Linked DNA regions of Homo sapiens: all the other regions are linked to region 4. The links are contacts of gene promoters, found by promoter capture Hi-C in human tissues and cell types (Jung and others, 2019). All regions are on one chromosome and are shown on one strand. The core of a region is centred on a gene start or on the middle of the fragment in contact, and the rest is flanking DNA. Distances in the headings are between cores, read along the strand shown.

What was found. Contacts are between HindIII fragments. The study calls those that stand out against the background at their distance.
Region 1: a contact is called between a fragment that was not itself captured here and the fragment with the promoter of MRC2 in region 4, in 1 of the 25 tissues and cell types used here (dorsolateral prefrontal cortex).
Region 2: a fragment that was not itself captured here is called in contact with the fragment with the promoter of MRC2 in region 4 in 1 of the 25 tissues and cell types used here (dorsolateral prefrontal cortex).
Region 3: a contact is called between a fragment that was not itself captured here and the fragment with the promoter of MRC2 in region 4, in 1 of the 25 tissues and cell types used here (dorsolateral prefrontal cortex).

The regions. Positions count from the first base shown.
Region 1 is chr17:63,540,232-63,543,851 of GRCh38, reverse strand. KCNH6 (potassium voltage-gated channel subfamily H member 6) reads right to left here. Exons shown (of 13, transcript NM_001278919.2): 9 at 1,418-1,611; 10 at 192-276. Among named protein-coding and RNA genes, the nearest start is that of DCAF7, 8.4 kb to the left of the region's middle. The HindIII fragment of the contact is 1,199 bases long and covers 1,476-2,674 here.
Region 2 is chr17:63,356,481-63,360,234 of GRCh38, reverse strand. All of the region lies in intron 14 of TANC2 (tetratricopeptide repeat, ankyrin repeat and coiled-coil containing 2), which reads right to left. Among named protein-coding and RNA genes, the nearest start is that of CYB561, 88 kb to the left of the region's middle. The HindIII fragment of the contact is 3,521 bases long and covers 1-3,124 here.
Region 3 is chr17:63,593,329-63,597,369 of GRCh38, reverse strand. DCAF7 (DDB1 and CUL4 associated factor 7) reads right to left here. Exons shown (of 7, transcript NM_005828.5): 7 at 3,104-4,041. Among named protein-coding and RNA genes, the nearest start is that of TACO1, 5.5 kb to the left of the region's middle. The HindIII fragment of the contact is 6,157 bases long and covers 1-4,041 here.
Region 4 is chr17:62,625,481-62,629,558 of GRCh38, reverse strand. MRC2 (mannose receptor C-type 2) reads right to left here and starts at 1,889. Exons shown (of 30, transcript NM_006039.5): 1 at 1,639-1,889. The coding sequence starts at 1,756. It overlaps LOC107985020 (a long non-coding RNA gene), which reads left to right and starts at 1,509. Exons shown (of 2, transcript XR_001752961.3): 1 at 1,509-1,714; 2 at 2,550-3,122. RefSeq lists silencers at 1,260-1,329, 1,530-1,969 and enhancers at 3,163-3,663, 3,664-4,078. The HindIII fragment of the contact is 9,538 bases long and covers 1-4,078 here.

The DNA of each region.
Region 1 (3,620 bases), core at 826-3,325, 910 kb before region 4:
ACACAGACCATCAGGACTGGGAGACTGGGGAGGAAGGAGGGCCAAGGCTCCAGCTCTGGGTCTAGAGAGGGAGCCCCTCTCCACTCATGGAGTGGGGTGGCGCTGGGGAGGCAGGATGGAGAGGACATGGGAGGGGTAGGAGGCTGGGCAGGGGCTACAGGCTGGTGGGGGTGGGGGCTGGCTTTGCTCACCTGACTGGTTGTCACTGAGAAAGAAACCTTGGTGGTCTTGGCTGCCAGGAGCCTGTCGGGGGGATGAGTGGAGACCCCCGGCTGCCTTATGGGAAGCAAGAGGGTGAAATAACAGGAACCAAAGCTGGGATGGGGCCTCTTTGTTCTTCCCTGCCCTGACCCCATGGTGCTGTCACAACTAGGTGAAAGAATGACAAGCAGCTGGGCACAGCAGCGATGCCCTGGACGACTTCCTGCAGGTGGCCCAGGCTGCAGAGACCACACCCCTCCTGTCCTGGTGCCCAGCTGCTGGGCATTCTGGCCACCTGATGGCTGGGGGCCGAGGGCAGAGTCCTAACCTGTCAGTCTCCTGTGCAGATCGCGGGAGGGAGGGGAGAAACTGAGGAGGGGGAGAGGGGATGGTGTGGGGAGGGCTGTCCACAGCCAGAAAGCCCACCCAGCTCTATGCTCAGGAAGCTGGGCACAGGGCCTACGCCAGCAGGGCCCTCCCCCAAGGTGGAGGGGCGGGGCACCAGGGAAGAAATAGCCCGGGCTCTGTGTTTCCCTGCCAGATGCACACTCCCTTCTTCCCATTAGTTTCCTCCTCCGTGATACCCCGCTCTGGGCATTCCCAGGTCGGTCCTGGCTGTCCCACTCCTTAGCAAGCTTGAGCTCCACATGGCTTCTCCTTTATACCTTCGTGACTTTGGCTGTTTTACTTTGTGGCTCTTTATTTTTCTTGAGTTGTCAAAATCTCCTCTACTGAGGGATGAGCATGAGAAGAGACAGCTTTGTCACCTCTTGGCAGCCCCTGTGTCTGGCACTGTGAGCCCTCTGGACAGAAGGCACCCCCTTTTTCAGCTTGGTATGATGTAGTAGGAATGCCTGGGCTTTGGAGTCAGACAAATTAAATTCACATTTTGGCTCTGCCGTTGACTAGCTGAATGGCTTTGGCCAATTTATTTATTGTCTCTAATCCTCAGTTTCCTCATCTGAAAATTGGGGATAATAATACCATTTGCAAGAAGATCATGTAAAAGAAGCCCCACCCTTAGCACCCTACTGCTTAATAAATAGTAGCTATCCTCATACTTAGCATGACGCCAGCCATGGTAGGCACAAAAGAAATTATGGCAAAGGTTGCAGGATGGGGTTGAAAGGAAGGGTGTTGGTCAGATGGGTGCCCTCAGGCCAGGCAGGCTGCCTGGGCATTTCCACCCACCCTGGCCCACCTGGCCCTGACTCACGTCCCGCAGGTTGAAGGTGACCTCCAGCTTACTCCAGAAGCTCTCCGCAAAGGCCGGGTACATGTCCAGCACCTCCAGCAGATCTGCCCGCTGGATCTTGTGCAGGTCGCAGTAGGTCAGAGCCCGCACGTCTGCACTGGACTTGCCTGGCTGGGCATGGAGGCTGACGGGTTCCCCAAAGATGTCATTCTTTCCTGCCAGCCAGAGGGGTGGGAGTCTCTTCAGGGTCTGACTCCATGCTCCCTTATGAGGGTCCTTTGACCGTGACCTCCCCCAACCTCGGACATCCTTCTAGGCCGGGGCCTGCTGCCTGGGATAGAGCTCTGGGGACATGGCTGGATGTGCTGGCTGTGGGTGGCAGGGTAGGGGTGGGGCTGTTCTCTTCCTGTGTCCTTTGAGCGGCACAGAGATCCGGCGTGTGGCTCCTCTCACTGTCTCCAGGCCCTTCAGAACCACCCTCCATCAGAATCTCCCTCCTGTAGCCCATACTCTTTGGCACAGTGGGCAGGAAGGGGCCCTAAAGGCTCAACATCTGTCTCAACGTCTTCCTGCTGCTTGGCCTGCCAGTGCTGTGGAGCAGGGTGCAGGGAACCCAGGGCCAGAGCACCTAACTCCGCCAGGGCAGGGCCAGAGGCTTCTCTGTCTTCCCACTCCCAATTGTGGGGCCAGGTAACCAGCATGGCCCTGGTGAAGGAAGCTTGGGGAAGTTACTCCCCCTGTCTAGACCCCAGAGTCTTCATCTCTAAAATGGATAAAACCTGATCTGCCTTGCCAACCCCACTGGACTGTTCAGGGAAGCAGATGAGGTGATGCTTGAGAAAGTGACTCAAAAAGCAACAGGCAGCAGGGCTCAGCGGCTCACGCCTGTAATCCCAGCACTTTGGGAGGCTGAGGGTAGTGGATTATTTGAGGTCGGTTCGAGACCAGTCTGGCCAACACGGTGAAACCGCATCTCTACTAAAAACAACAACAGCAAAAACAAAAATTAGCAGGGCATGGTGGCCTGTAATCCCAGCTACTCGGGAGGCTGAGGCAGAAGAATCACTTGAACCCGGGAGGCAGAGTTTGCAGGGAGCTGAGATCACACCACTGTACTCCAGCCTGGGTGACAGAGCGAGACTCCATCTCAAAAAAAAAAAAAAAAAAAAGCAAGAGGCACCTGACTAGGTCCATGCAAGGCAAGGGGGAATATCCCAGGGTAGACATGGGTGATGTTCAGGTATGTGGTATGTGGCAAGGGTACTGGGCCCTCCTGGTGCCAGGTGCTGTGCTGGCCAAAGGATATAAATATAAGATGTTGTGCCACCCACAAGGACCCTCCCAAATCCCTGCAAGATAGGTACGTAAGCAGCCAACAAGTTTACAGCATGATCTGTAGAGCCCTAGAAACAGGAAGAACCAAGAGTTATGGGGCCATGGAGGAGGGAGGGGCTCCTCCTGCCAGGGGTGGCTGGGGCAGAGAGGAGGGGGCTTACAGAGGAAGTGAAGTGGGGGCTGTGTCGAGAGAAACAAGGACCAGCCCCCATGAGAAAGGCAGTCAGGACAGAAGAAACAGCATGTGATCAGCACTGCACTGTCAGGGCTCAGGGGTGGAGAGCCCAGGGCCGGGGTGCCACGGAGCATGACTGCTTTGATTCCCACTCCCCCAGAAAGTCCACTTGTTAGTGCAAGTGGCAGTAACAGTTTAGCACAGAAGGATGGGTGGAGGCTGAGACATGTCCCCACAAGAGAACAGGATCAAAGGGTATTCACAAAGGAGGGGGCTGAGGCCTGGAGAGGGAAGCGGCTTGCCAGGGTCACACATGAAACCCTGAAGCTTGAAATCTGGGCAACATTATAATGTGATGGTTTTCCAGTAGATGAAAGATTCTGATCTAGTGTCTTTTTCTACTCAGGACAAAATGAGAGGTTTCATGTCTCTAACTGAAACTTAAATTGGATTAACTTCTTAATTATTAATAATAATAATCATCCCTCCCATGTGATGGCACTTTTTTTTTTTAAAGACAGAGTCTCGCTCTGCCACCCAGGCTGGAGTACAGTGGCGTGATCTTGGTTTACTGCAATTTCCACCTCCTGGGTTCAAGCAATTCTCTGCCTCAGCCTCCCAAGTAGCTGGGATTACAGGCACCCGCCACCATGCCGGGCTAATTTTTTGTATTTCTAGTAGGGATGGGGTTTCATCATCTTGGCCAGGTTGGTC
Region 2 (3,754 bases), core at 115-2,614, 730 kb before region 4:
TAAGGTTAATTGTCATCTTGCCTGGAGGCTCATATTTAGATTTAAAAAACAAAATCAACACAAACTTCAACTCACCATTTATTTTGTAGTCATTTCAACCCCATCTATTCTATAAGAAGCCCTGTTATACAGACCTCTGGCACAGTTATTTTTCACTTTGGGGAGGACACCCTCTCTTTTTCCTTAGACAAACTGCTTGTTCTCTGACACCCTGCTTTGTGGCAATGGATTTTGGAGCATCAGGTCTCCAACGTGTAATTCACTTACTAATATGGTCAAATAAATTAGGAAAAACCTCGACAAACCACTTATTATAAGCAATCAATTCTGGTCATAAAGAATCAAGTAAGTACTCAACTATCCCATGGTATAGGTAGGATTTGTGTCGCCTTTTCCCTTTCCATTCATCACAGGATTTGCTGTCTTTAATTTGAGGAAATCAGGTCAAACCAAATTAGGCTCCCACATCACAACCTTAGGCTCCCACATCACAATCTCATTAGGTTGTATCAACTCAACACTCATTACATGAAGTTCACAACAAGCTTCTTGTATCTTATTCAAACATTTAAAAATAAGGCTGGCTAGGCTGGGCACGGTGGCTTATGCCTGTAATCCTAGCACTTTGGGAGGCTGAGGTGGGCAGACCACCTGAGGTCAGGAGTACGAGACCAGCCTGGCCAAATTGGTGAAACTCCGTCTCTACTAAAAATACAAAAAAGTTAGCCGGGCAAGGTAGCAGGTACCTGTAATATCCCAGCTACTTGGGAGGCTGAGGCAGGAGAATTGCTTGAACTCAGGAGGCAGAGGTTGCAGTGATGTGAAATCGCATCACTGCACTCTAGCCTGGGTGACAGGACACTCTGTCTCGAAAAAAAAAAAAAAATGCTGGTGCAGTAGCTCATCCCTGTAATCCCAGCACTTTGGGAGGACAAGGTGGGTGGATGGCTTGAACCTGAGTTTGAGACCAGGAACACAGTAAGACTCTTTCTCTACAAACAAAAAAAATTAGGCATGGTGGCATGTGCCTGTGGTCACAGTTACACAGGAAGCTAAGGTAGGAGGATTGCCAGAGCCCAGGAGGTTGAGACTTCAGTGAGCCGTGACTGTGCCACTGCACTCCAGCCTGAGTGACAGAGTGAGATACTGTATTAAAAAAATAAAAACAAACCCCACAAAAATACACACATAATAACGCAGTAGTCTTTTAATCTCTGGCAAAATCTTACACACACACACACACACACACACACACACAAATATTAATCTGAGAGCCGTTCCTATGGAAGGGAAAGTTAGATATCATGAAAATTGAGAAAATGAGGAATAGAAACAGAACAGAGTGGAGATTTATTCAGGGCGAGCCTAAAGCGATATAGAAATATTAAGCAGTAACTGGACTGCACCACAAGGCTGGTAGCTCCGACTGTCTACTCTATCAGCCTTAAATTTCTACTATGAGAGTCACTAAAAGGTTGCCTAACAAAGGCCGATGACTACTTCTCTCAAATGTCTTATTTTAAATGCACAAGTTGCCTCAAATAGGTTTTCCATCTCTTTACTATTAGCATAATAGCAGGAATTCGCTTATTAAATTAGTGAGTTAATCTGATATCTCCGTGCCCAAGAGAATAAAACATAGGACAGATTAAGTTCAGGGTATGTCAGAAGGCTGACAGTGATGAACAGTGGGAAACAGAGAGCAGAATGAGGTGGTATGGTCTAAGGTTTGTGATTGCTTCAAGGGGCATATTTTACCTAAACTGCAAATCTAAAAGATTCTTCAGTGATACTCTGCTTACAGTTTGATACACACACACATACACACACACACACACACACACACACACACACATACTCTCTCTCTCTCTCTCTCTCTCTCACTCTACTCACCTTGTTACTCATTTATTTCTATGACAATGAGACAACGATACATCTATGTAACGTTAGGTCATTCTCTCTGGTAGGTCAAGTCCTTGCCCAGATTCTGAGACAATAAGCAGTCTGGTATTCAAAATAATGAAAACTCAATCTCAGCTGTAGCATTAACCTCTGGCTCTGCTATTTCCTGCTTCCAGCACCATTCTCAGATTACTGACTCTTTTCAGCTCAGGCAGAAGCAACCTCCTTGGGTAGCCTATTTCTGGAGAAGATCAACTACTTTTTGGCAATTGAGTGCTGAAAGCCCAGGAAAATGGACTAAAAAGGGTAAGAATGTTGTGTTGCCTCTGGAAGCTCTCCTTACACCACAGAGATGTACATGTCAGGCACTGGCTTACCTGGTGTGATTTCAGAGGCACTGAATTGGTCTTCTTTGATCTACTGAAAGATGCTTTAGAGAGAAGGAGAGAAAGTGGAGAACAGAAGGAGAAACAATGTGCAAGAAGTGGAGGCTGAAGGCCACAAAGACAAACCATGCCTGGAGAGAGTCCTGCTAATCAGACCTGCCTGAAATGGAAAACAAGTGCAGCCAGCTGCTTTGAAAGACCAGCTTGGGCTTTGCCAATAGCATTAAATTCTTAGTGAATTTCCATCTCATTGACCTAGGGAGCCTTAAGCACTGAGATCAATACTTCAGTACTTTAGTAACAAGGTTGGTGCCAGCCATTGCTGGGGAGGGGGCTGAGTTCCAACTGAAATGAAATCTAAGAAAGCTTTTTTTGATAACTCCTGGTCCTGTTTACAATTTTACTCTCTGCCATTAAGTGAAATAAGATGATCTCTCAGCAGCCATGCTATTCAATCATCAGGGAACGGATTATACAGGATTTGAAGTTGGAAGTACCTGCTCCTCTTGTCCCAGTGCATCAGTCGGTTGCTGCAAAACTCCTAGTTAAAATGCGATGTTGAGAAGGCAAAGCCTGTATAGTCATGATATGGCTGTATAAAAGCCGTATTTTCTCCTCTGAGAGCCCCTGAGGATTTCATCTGTTGTAAGGATACTATTAATTCAGTGGTAGTCTGGTTGCCTTGGACCTCAGCTTTCAATCCTCTGAGATGTCCCAGGATCTAAGGTCCCAGATCAGCTAGCAAAGTTTCTCTGGGAACTGATCTCAAAGCGTTTATTAGGCAATTCTACATTAGTTTCTTTTTCCTATATACATAGTTGCCAGTTCTTTGTATTAAATATTGACAACAGCTCTAGTAGGATTTATAGTAAAATCCTTTTGGGAACATCATACAATTCACAGAAGGGACTTGGATTGTTTTTATTGTTTCTTTTTAAAATCTTGTGCTCCAAAATGATAACAGCAGAAGATGGCTGTCGCTATCCGATTAGCCACAGGATTTAACTAAGATACACCAGAAGGGTCTATTACTGCAGGGTGAGGGGAGGAAAAAGAACATACCCCAAGTGTTTCTTTTACTCTGTACTATTCTAGGCATCATACTATATGACCTCACTTAACTTCTCAACAACTCTAGAAAAAAGGCATTATTATTGCTCTTATGTAGATAAGAAAACTAAGTCTTAGAAACACTATGTAACTTTTTCCAAAGGTCAAAGTTCCTAGAAGAGGCAGGATTTATATGCAGGTAATTTGACTCAAGAGTTTATGTTCTTTCCACTACAGCATGTTTCTTTAAAAAAGCTTCCCTCTCAGAGAAAATGCTACAAAGTCTATTGCCTGGCTTAATATCTTCATCATAATCTGGAACTAATTTTCTGATGAATCAGCATGGAGTAGGCTGAGCAGCATGCCCACAGTACAGTTGTCTCTAATAAGGCCTGGTGAAGGACACGGTGAAGGGC
Region 3 (4,041 bases), core at 788-3,287, 970 kb before region 4:
ATCTGTGATGAATGGCAGGGCAGATTTTAACTCTCAGTCTGAGTTAATAGCCACCTTTCAAGATAAATTCATAGTTGACTGAACCATCTCTAGACGCCTGGCTGTCAGGCTCACTGAAATCACTTAAGTAACAATGAGCCTTGGAAGCTAAAGACTGGCTACAAATATCATTCCATTAGGTTTGACCATGTGTTGTCCAGTACTAACAGCTCTCAATGAATGAGATTACATTAGTTATTAGTCCAGATACTTAGCCGATTTGCTAGTATGGCTGAGACATAATTATTCACTACTTCACTTCCTTTTCCAGGGTACACAGGAAGACTACATTTCTTGACTTGACCTTCCTTGCAGTTGGCAGATAGGAGCAAAAGTGAGTAAGCCACTTCCCGGCCCATCCTGAAAAATGTACTCCCTCCCACCCCCCATAAGCAACCTGGAGGTCACACGTTTATTTTTATTTTTTGAGATGGAGTCTTGCTCTGTTGCCCAGGCTGAAGTGCAGTGGTGCGATCTTGGCTCACTGCAACCTCCACCTCCCGGGTTCAAGCTATTCTCCTGCCTCAGCTTCCCAAGTAGCTGGGACAACAGGCGTGTGCCACCATGCCTAGCTAATTTTTGTATTTTTAGTAGAGATAGGGTTTCACCATGTTGGCCAGGCTGGTCTCGAACTCCTGACCTCAAGCTATCTGCCCCTCCCTCCCCCCTCAGCCTTCCAAAGTGCTGGGATTAGAGAGTTGAGCCACTGCACCCGGCCCAGAGGACTTTGTGTAAGCAAAAAATAAGCTTTTGTAGTGCTCAGTTTCTGAGATTTGGGGGTTTGTTGCCGCAGCATAGGCTAGCCTATAAATAGTATTACTCTCTGTTTTCTCCTTAAAAACCAGAGAGCAGGACTCATGTGTTTCTCACAAAATATACATTGTCAGACCATATAGCAGCACAGTTCCAAAGGACCAGCAGGTACTCATAAAACTTAAATTCTCTGCCAGGCACGGTGGCTCACGCCTGTAATCCCAGCACTTTGGGAGGCCGAGGTGGGTGGATCATCTGAGGTCGGGAGTTTGAGACCAGCCTGACCAACATGATGAAACCCCATCTCTACTAAAAATATAAAATTAGCCAGGCGTGGTGGCACATGCCTGTAGTCCCAGCTACTCAGGAGGCTGAGACAAGAGAATCGCTTGAACCCGGGAGACGGAGGTTGCGATGAGCCGAGATCGCGCCATTGCACTCCAGCCTGGGCAACAAGAGCGAAATTCTGTCTGAAAAAAAAAAAAAATTAAATTCTCAAGAGCACATACTTCCCTTCACAGATCCACTGCCACCGGCTCCATATCAGCTGACACAATGGCAGGTACTTACCGAATACAGGTTCACGGAACCAATCAGTTTGCCTTTCTTCTCTTCCTTCACAGTGGCCCAACATGAAGAATAAAAATATAAATAAATGGGGGTAGTATTTCATCCAGGACACACAGCATTTGAAGAGCAGTGGGATAGGAACTCCCCCACCCTACCGTGTGGGGCATAGGTTTGGGAAATTAGCAGGGACTTGGACATTCCTAGTCAGCCATCAGAACCTGTCCAAATCCAAAAGATCTGGGAGTTATTTCTCTGTCCTCCTTCACAATCAATAAATTACTAAATGCTGATGACTGCATCCCTCTTTACTTGTGCCCTGTCCTCTCCATCCTTGCCGTGGCTGCTGCTGCCGCCGCCGCCTTAGTTCAGGGTTTTTCTCTCACCCTATAAGAAGGAAGAGGCACTTTTTCATTGCCTATCCTTCTAAAATGCAATTCTGATGACTCCTCTCTGTGTATGTTTTCCAGGATCATACAGAAGTGTAATGTCTAAAATTTCTGCAAAGCGGGAGACTTTCCCTGCCCTGGCTCCTGTATACATCTCTAGCTACATTTCCCACTATTCACCCCACCTCAACCTGCAATTCTCTAAATATGACCATACTTTCTTGCCTCCATAGATTTGCACATGGGTGTTCTCTCTGCCTTAAAGGACATTCCCTATTTCCAGATAACTCCTACTCAGCCTTCAAAACCCAGCTTAGGCATCCATCTTAAGTAGTTTTCGCTGACCCCATGTGGCTCCCACACAGGCAGAGGTGATCACCTCCTCCTGAGGGGTGATGCCTAAACACATCCATTATCGCACAACAATGCAAGTTATTTGGTTTTTTTGTTTTTTGTCTTTTAAAAATTTGGGTGGGAGGGGGTAGGGATAAAAGACTACCAATTGGGTACAGTGTACACTGCTCCGGTGATGGGTGCACCAAAATCTCAGAAATCATCATTAAAAAAACTTATTATCCACATAACCAAAAACCACTTGTTCCCCCAAAACTATTAAAATAAAATAAATGCCAGGTGCGGTGGCTCACACCTGTAATCCCAACACTTTGGGAAGCTGAGGCAGGCGTATCACAAGGTCAGGAGTTCGAGACCAACCTGACCAACACGGTGAAACCCCGTCTTTACTAACAATACAAAAATCAGTCGGGTGTTGTGGCACATGCCTGTAATCTCAGCTACTCAGGAGGCTGAGGCAGGAGAATAGCTTGAACCGGGAGGTGGAGGTTGCAGTGAGCCGAGATCGCGCCATTGCACTCCAGCCTGGGTGACAGAGCGAGACCCCGTCTCAAAAAAAGAAAAAAGAAATGCAAAAAAAAAGATTTGTCTTAGATCTTAGTCTGGCTAAAAGAAATTTTTTTTTTTTTTAATAAAAATGACTGATTGATTGAGACAGGGTCTTGCTATGTTGCCAAGGCTGGTCTTGAACTCCTGGCCTCAAGTGATCCTCCCACCTCAGCCACCCCCATGCCTCAGCTGGGATCACAGACCACTGTGCCCGGCCACAAGTATTTATGTAGATGTCTCCTCTGGTAGACTGCAACCAACTTGAGGGCCATGTCCCCTGGCATAGAGGAGGTGCTCCACTGAATTAACAAGTGAATGACTAAATAGGATATAAAAGGTGATGAGTAGACTGCCCGGCTCGGGCTGGGGCACTGCCACTGTCTATGGAACATGACCAAAGTGACAAAATGGGAAGAACTGAATTCGTCACAAAAAGAAATTCAGTCAATCTATACATGTTCAAGTTTTATTACAAAGTATGATGGGCAGAAAATACGGTACTTCTTATACAGGAGGCTGAAACAGAATGAAAGGGTGAAAATTAGGTTTAATTTACTTAGGAAACAAGAAATAGAAAGTCATAGCTATAACACTCCACTTTCAGGTGCCCATGAAGTAGCCTTCAATGGAGATTCCCCATAGTTGTTTCACAGCACAGTGTTAAAATTTTATTACAAGCCCTGTGTACAATCAGTCCTGTGAAAATATTTATAAAAGAAAAATATTACAGTACAGTTCTGCAAGGGGCAGCTTCCTCTACACCTGACCGTGGATGCCACAAAACCTATAATATAGAGGGAAAGTTTAAATATATAACAAGAATGGAAGTTCAGACATACTAGGCTAAAGGACACAGAAATGGATCAGTTAGAGCTTAACATTTCAGAGCAAGAAATCTCCATTTTCTACATAGAGGTTTATACAATCATGCTACAAATTCACTCTGGGTGGGGTGGGGAAGGAAGGTCACTGACAAGAGGGGTAGTAAAATACACAGGAACCAAAGCAAGTGAGTCAGACTCAACTAAATCGATTCAAAGCTTCAGCTCAACAATTTTCATAACACATGGTATACCACAATCAACCCAAGGTGAGAACATTTCTTTTAAATAGTAGATATCACATGTTCATAATCACTGGGTTGTCCCAAAGGTGGGTGCCTATAAACTTTCCAGCTGTTACATAGACTGTCAACATCTTTCTTCTTGAGTTTAAACTTTCTTTAGCTTATTTGTTTCTCGTTGGATATACCAGTCCAAGCCTCTTTGGGAAGGCACCTGCATGTTTCCATATTTTAAAAATGACATCCAGAAAGTAGCCTGAGAGGACCTGGCCCATCCCATGTGGCCACACATTTGACTTTGACCATTAGCAGCAGTGACACTGTGAG
Region 4 (4,078 bases), core at 640-3,139:
CACTGCCTGCCACCCAGATCCAAGCCTCCTCAGGGTGTGGTCAATGCAGTGCCAACGGGAAGGGGACCCTCTGAGGCTATTCATCCCTGGACACAGCCCCAGGGAGGGCCAGGCACAGAGACCAGGAGGAGGAGGGACACTCCAGGCGTCCTTGTCCTCCCTGACCGGGCCTCTCACCAGGCACTTCCAGCCCCCTCTATGAAAAGCTCCAGGGGGAAAGGCCGAGTCAGCACTCTGGCCACAACTCTCTCCCAGGGCCTGGCTTTAAAGTGTGCTCTGGAGCTCTGGGAATGGCCATCCTCCCCACCCCTTCCCACCGCCTGCCTCCTGAGGCCCTGCGCAGAGGAGCAGAGGAAGGCAGGAGTGCGAGGAGGTAGGGGAACTGCCTGTGAGGCCGCCCTGCAGTGGGTTAGGGGGTTACCCGGCCTGGTTTGTGTCTGTCCCACATTCAATGCCAGGTGGGCCCAGAATTGCCCCGGGGGTCTCCGGTTGGTGTGAATGTGGGTCACCGTGGCCCCCACCTTTCCCATCTGGCAGATATGTGTCTTGTGCCTACGTCACGCCAGGCCAACCCAGCAAGCACGGGCCAGGCTGGAGGCCCCAGACTCTCCAGGGGGCTGTCTGGTCCTTGCACAAAACTGCAGACACTGCACGGACTGTCCCCATCCCCCAATTAAACAGCCAGCAGGACCAAGCTGGGCCGGGCGATTCCCCCGGTCACTCCAGACACCCCCACCCCCACTCCCCCAGGAAGTGGATCTTTCCTTTCAACTCTTAGATTCTTGGCGAGGGATCTGTCTGTCCCCACACTTCACTGTTACCCCTGAATAAGGAGCAGGAAGAGAATGGCACAGTTTTGGGGTTTTCTGATTTTTGTTTTGTTTCCTGTTCGTTGGGTTTTAAAATCTTTAGCAGCTCTTTTGCCGCTCAAGGTCTGTCCCCTCTGGAGGGCCACTAGTGTGCCCAGAGCTGCCCACGCTACGCAACATCACAGCACGGCGGCGCCCAGCCTGTTGCTGCGTCCCAGTGGCAGGAGCCTCCTCACAGGGCTGCCGAGCTCACGCGGGGCGGATGCCGCGCGCCACAAGCCTCCTTGAAGACTAAGTGTGGAAAAGAAAATATCAACGCCCACGAGATGCAGGGGGCGGGGGGAAGGTGGGGGAAACGAACCCTCGCGGATAGTTGGAAAGCCGTCCTAACGCATCAGTCCTGGGGCAGAGCGAGGAGACTGGGCCCGGGAACTCCCGGACAGAGAGCCCTGGCTCCCCGGGCGCGCCCTGCAGGTCCCCTGCCGAGGACGGGCCGGCGCCGGGTGGTCCGGGAGCGCGGTGCGCGGGGGTCCTCAAGAGCCCACCCGCTTCCTCCTAGGCTGCTGGAGTCCCCCGGGCTCCCCTCCCCCGCCGCCCGCCACATCTGGTTCCACTCAGGTCCTCCCCCACCTCTAGGCGCGCTCCTCCTCCCCTCTCCTCCCCCGCTTTCAGAAAAGCGGAGACGAGTTTTAAAAACCCAGTCACACACACACGCACACACGCTTCTGGAGAAAAGAGGGGGGAAAAGGAGGGAAAAGTCGAGAGCGGCCCGCGCCTCGGCGCTCCCCCCGCCCGGGCCCTGAAGTTGGCCAAGTTGGCAGCGCCTTACCCGGGAGGGCGGCGTCCCCAGGGGCGCCGGGACGGCCGAGGTGCAGGCACCCGAGGAGCAGGACGCAGCGCAGCAGGTGACGAGGCCAGGGCGCGGGGGCCGGCCGGCCGGGCCCCATCCCCGAGCGCGGCGCTCAGTGGACGCGGGGACCGAGGGCGCACAGGCGCAACGCGCTGTGGCAGCCCCGAGGCTGGGCTGTGATGACCGCCCGCAAGGGGCTCGCGTCCTCCTCCGGGTCGGGACGAAGTGATGCCTCCCGGGGAGGAGGAGGGAGGAGGCAGCCCGGGCGGAGGGAGGGCGGAGGGAGGAGCGCAGAACCGGGGAGGAGGGTTCGAGGGGTAGAGGGGAAGGGAAGTGGGCAGCGTGGGAGGGGAAGGGGAGGAGGCGCGGGTCTGGGGCTAGAGCGTCGGGAGGGAGAGAAAGGGGTGGCGGAGAGGAGGACACGCCGGGTCCAGGAGGACCCCAGCGTGCGCCCTTTCTCTTGCTGCTCTGTTTCCCAGTCTCTCCCCGCCTCGCCTTCCCTCTCTTCTGTCCCGGCCAGGATCCCCAGACGCTGCGTCACAACTCCCCCGCTGGCGCGGGCGGGGAAGCAACTGCAAAACTTTCCGCAAACTTCACGGCGTGGTGGGACCTGGGCTACGAGGTCCGGCCAGCCCGGGGCGGGGGCGTGCAGCTGACCCAGGTGGCCAGACCCGGGCCGCCAGCATCCGCCCCGCCATCCCGCCTCTTTCTGCGGGCGTCTCCAGCAGCCTAGCATCCCCTACCTCCATGCCGAGGAGGACCCCTCCCCCGGTCTGGTGGGGAAGGGGCGGAGCCCAGGGCCTGGCCACCAGGGCGAAGATTGGGGGAGGGGGAGGCAGAGCCCTTGTTACGTGTGCGGAGCGCAACAATTCTTGCACGTCTTGTTTTAGCATTTTCGTGACCCCTGTGTCAGTGTTCCCGGTGCAGGAGTGTAGCACTTTTGCTTGTTGGGGCTGCATCCAGAAACCTGGGGAAAATCTGTCCACTGGACGTCTCAGAAGACCGGCATCATCACTCCCACCAACTGGACTGCTGGCCGGTAGCAAAAGACCAGCTGGAAATTTCATAAAAGGTTAGACAATCCACAGTTACTCAGTGTTACGCAACAGGTCTCTGCAGCACAGAGCACGAACTGGGGAGTCAGGATGCTGGAGTCCAGCCCTGCCTCTCTGCGGATTCCCTGCCTGACCTTGGGAAAGCCTCTTGGGGTCTCGGGGCATAGGGCAGGACTGAGACGTTGAGACCCCAAGTGCAAAGAAGACACATTTCTCCTACCACGAGTAATCAAAAACACTATGAAACTGTAATATGGGCCGGGTGCGGTGGCTCACGCCTGTAATCACACTTTCGGAGGCCGAGGAGATTGAGCCCAGGAGTTGAAGACCAGCCTGGGCAACATAGGCAGATCCCATCTCATTTTGTTAATATAAAATTTTTAAATAATAATAAAACTGTAATATAAATTGTATTGTTTCCTATCTTGTCCACCTTGGTATGTTTTTTGGAAATAAATTCAATTTTTTTCCTTTTTATTCCTCCTATCTTGGGTAAATGTTTCCCCAACTCTGCAGTGGGGGTGTTGGGTCAGAAATGCTCACTCGTCTCTTCCCATCTCTGTCAGGCTGAGGCTCTTGGTAAACAGTCCAGTGGTAATAGAGCCTCGAAGCAAGCCCCCACTGAAATCCCCTAGAGGCCCCTGGAAAGGGTCCCATTAGCCACCCTTTGGTTAGCAGCCAGACCAACAAAGCCCCTGCACTCCACGGCTAGCTTCAGCAGGTCCGACAGGGCCAGGTCCCTTCTGGTGGCTGTGGCTCCACTGCCCCTTGGGACATGTCTTCTTGGTGTGGCATGTTCTGGGATCTCAGTCCTCTGCACACAACAGGCCATGCTGGAGCTGCCTCAGAGGTCCCCCTCTTGGCCTTCCCTCTTGCACAATCCTGTAATCTCTGAAGGATTTAAGGATTTGCCGGCTAAGCTGCTCTCTCGCTCTCAGAACACAGGATACTCCTTCCCCTGAAACAGGGCTGGATTCCCCCTTCTCCAGCAGCTTGAGTAGGTTTCGGCGTTTCCTGCTGGCCTTCCCTCCTACTATCAGTGGCAGGACAGAAGCCCACCCCTTGACATCACCAGCGCAGAGCATGAGGCCAGAGAGCCCACCACTTGCCGGCACCAGGTCCCGCCATGCCGGGCACACAGGAGGTGTGCTCTCGTCTCTTCACCCACCGGCTCAACAAGCACCGACTGCTAGCCCTGTGCTAGCTGCTAGAGAAAGAGAGATGGGCAAACACAGTTGCAGCCCTAGAGGAGCCTCATTTAGTGGGGGAAAATAAACGTTTTGCCATATTCCAGGCAAAGAAGACGCAAGGGCTGAGGAGCACAAAAGTGTGCTGCTCTCGCAGGGACAGAGGTTGGTTCAAGC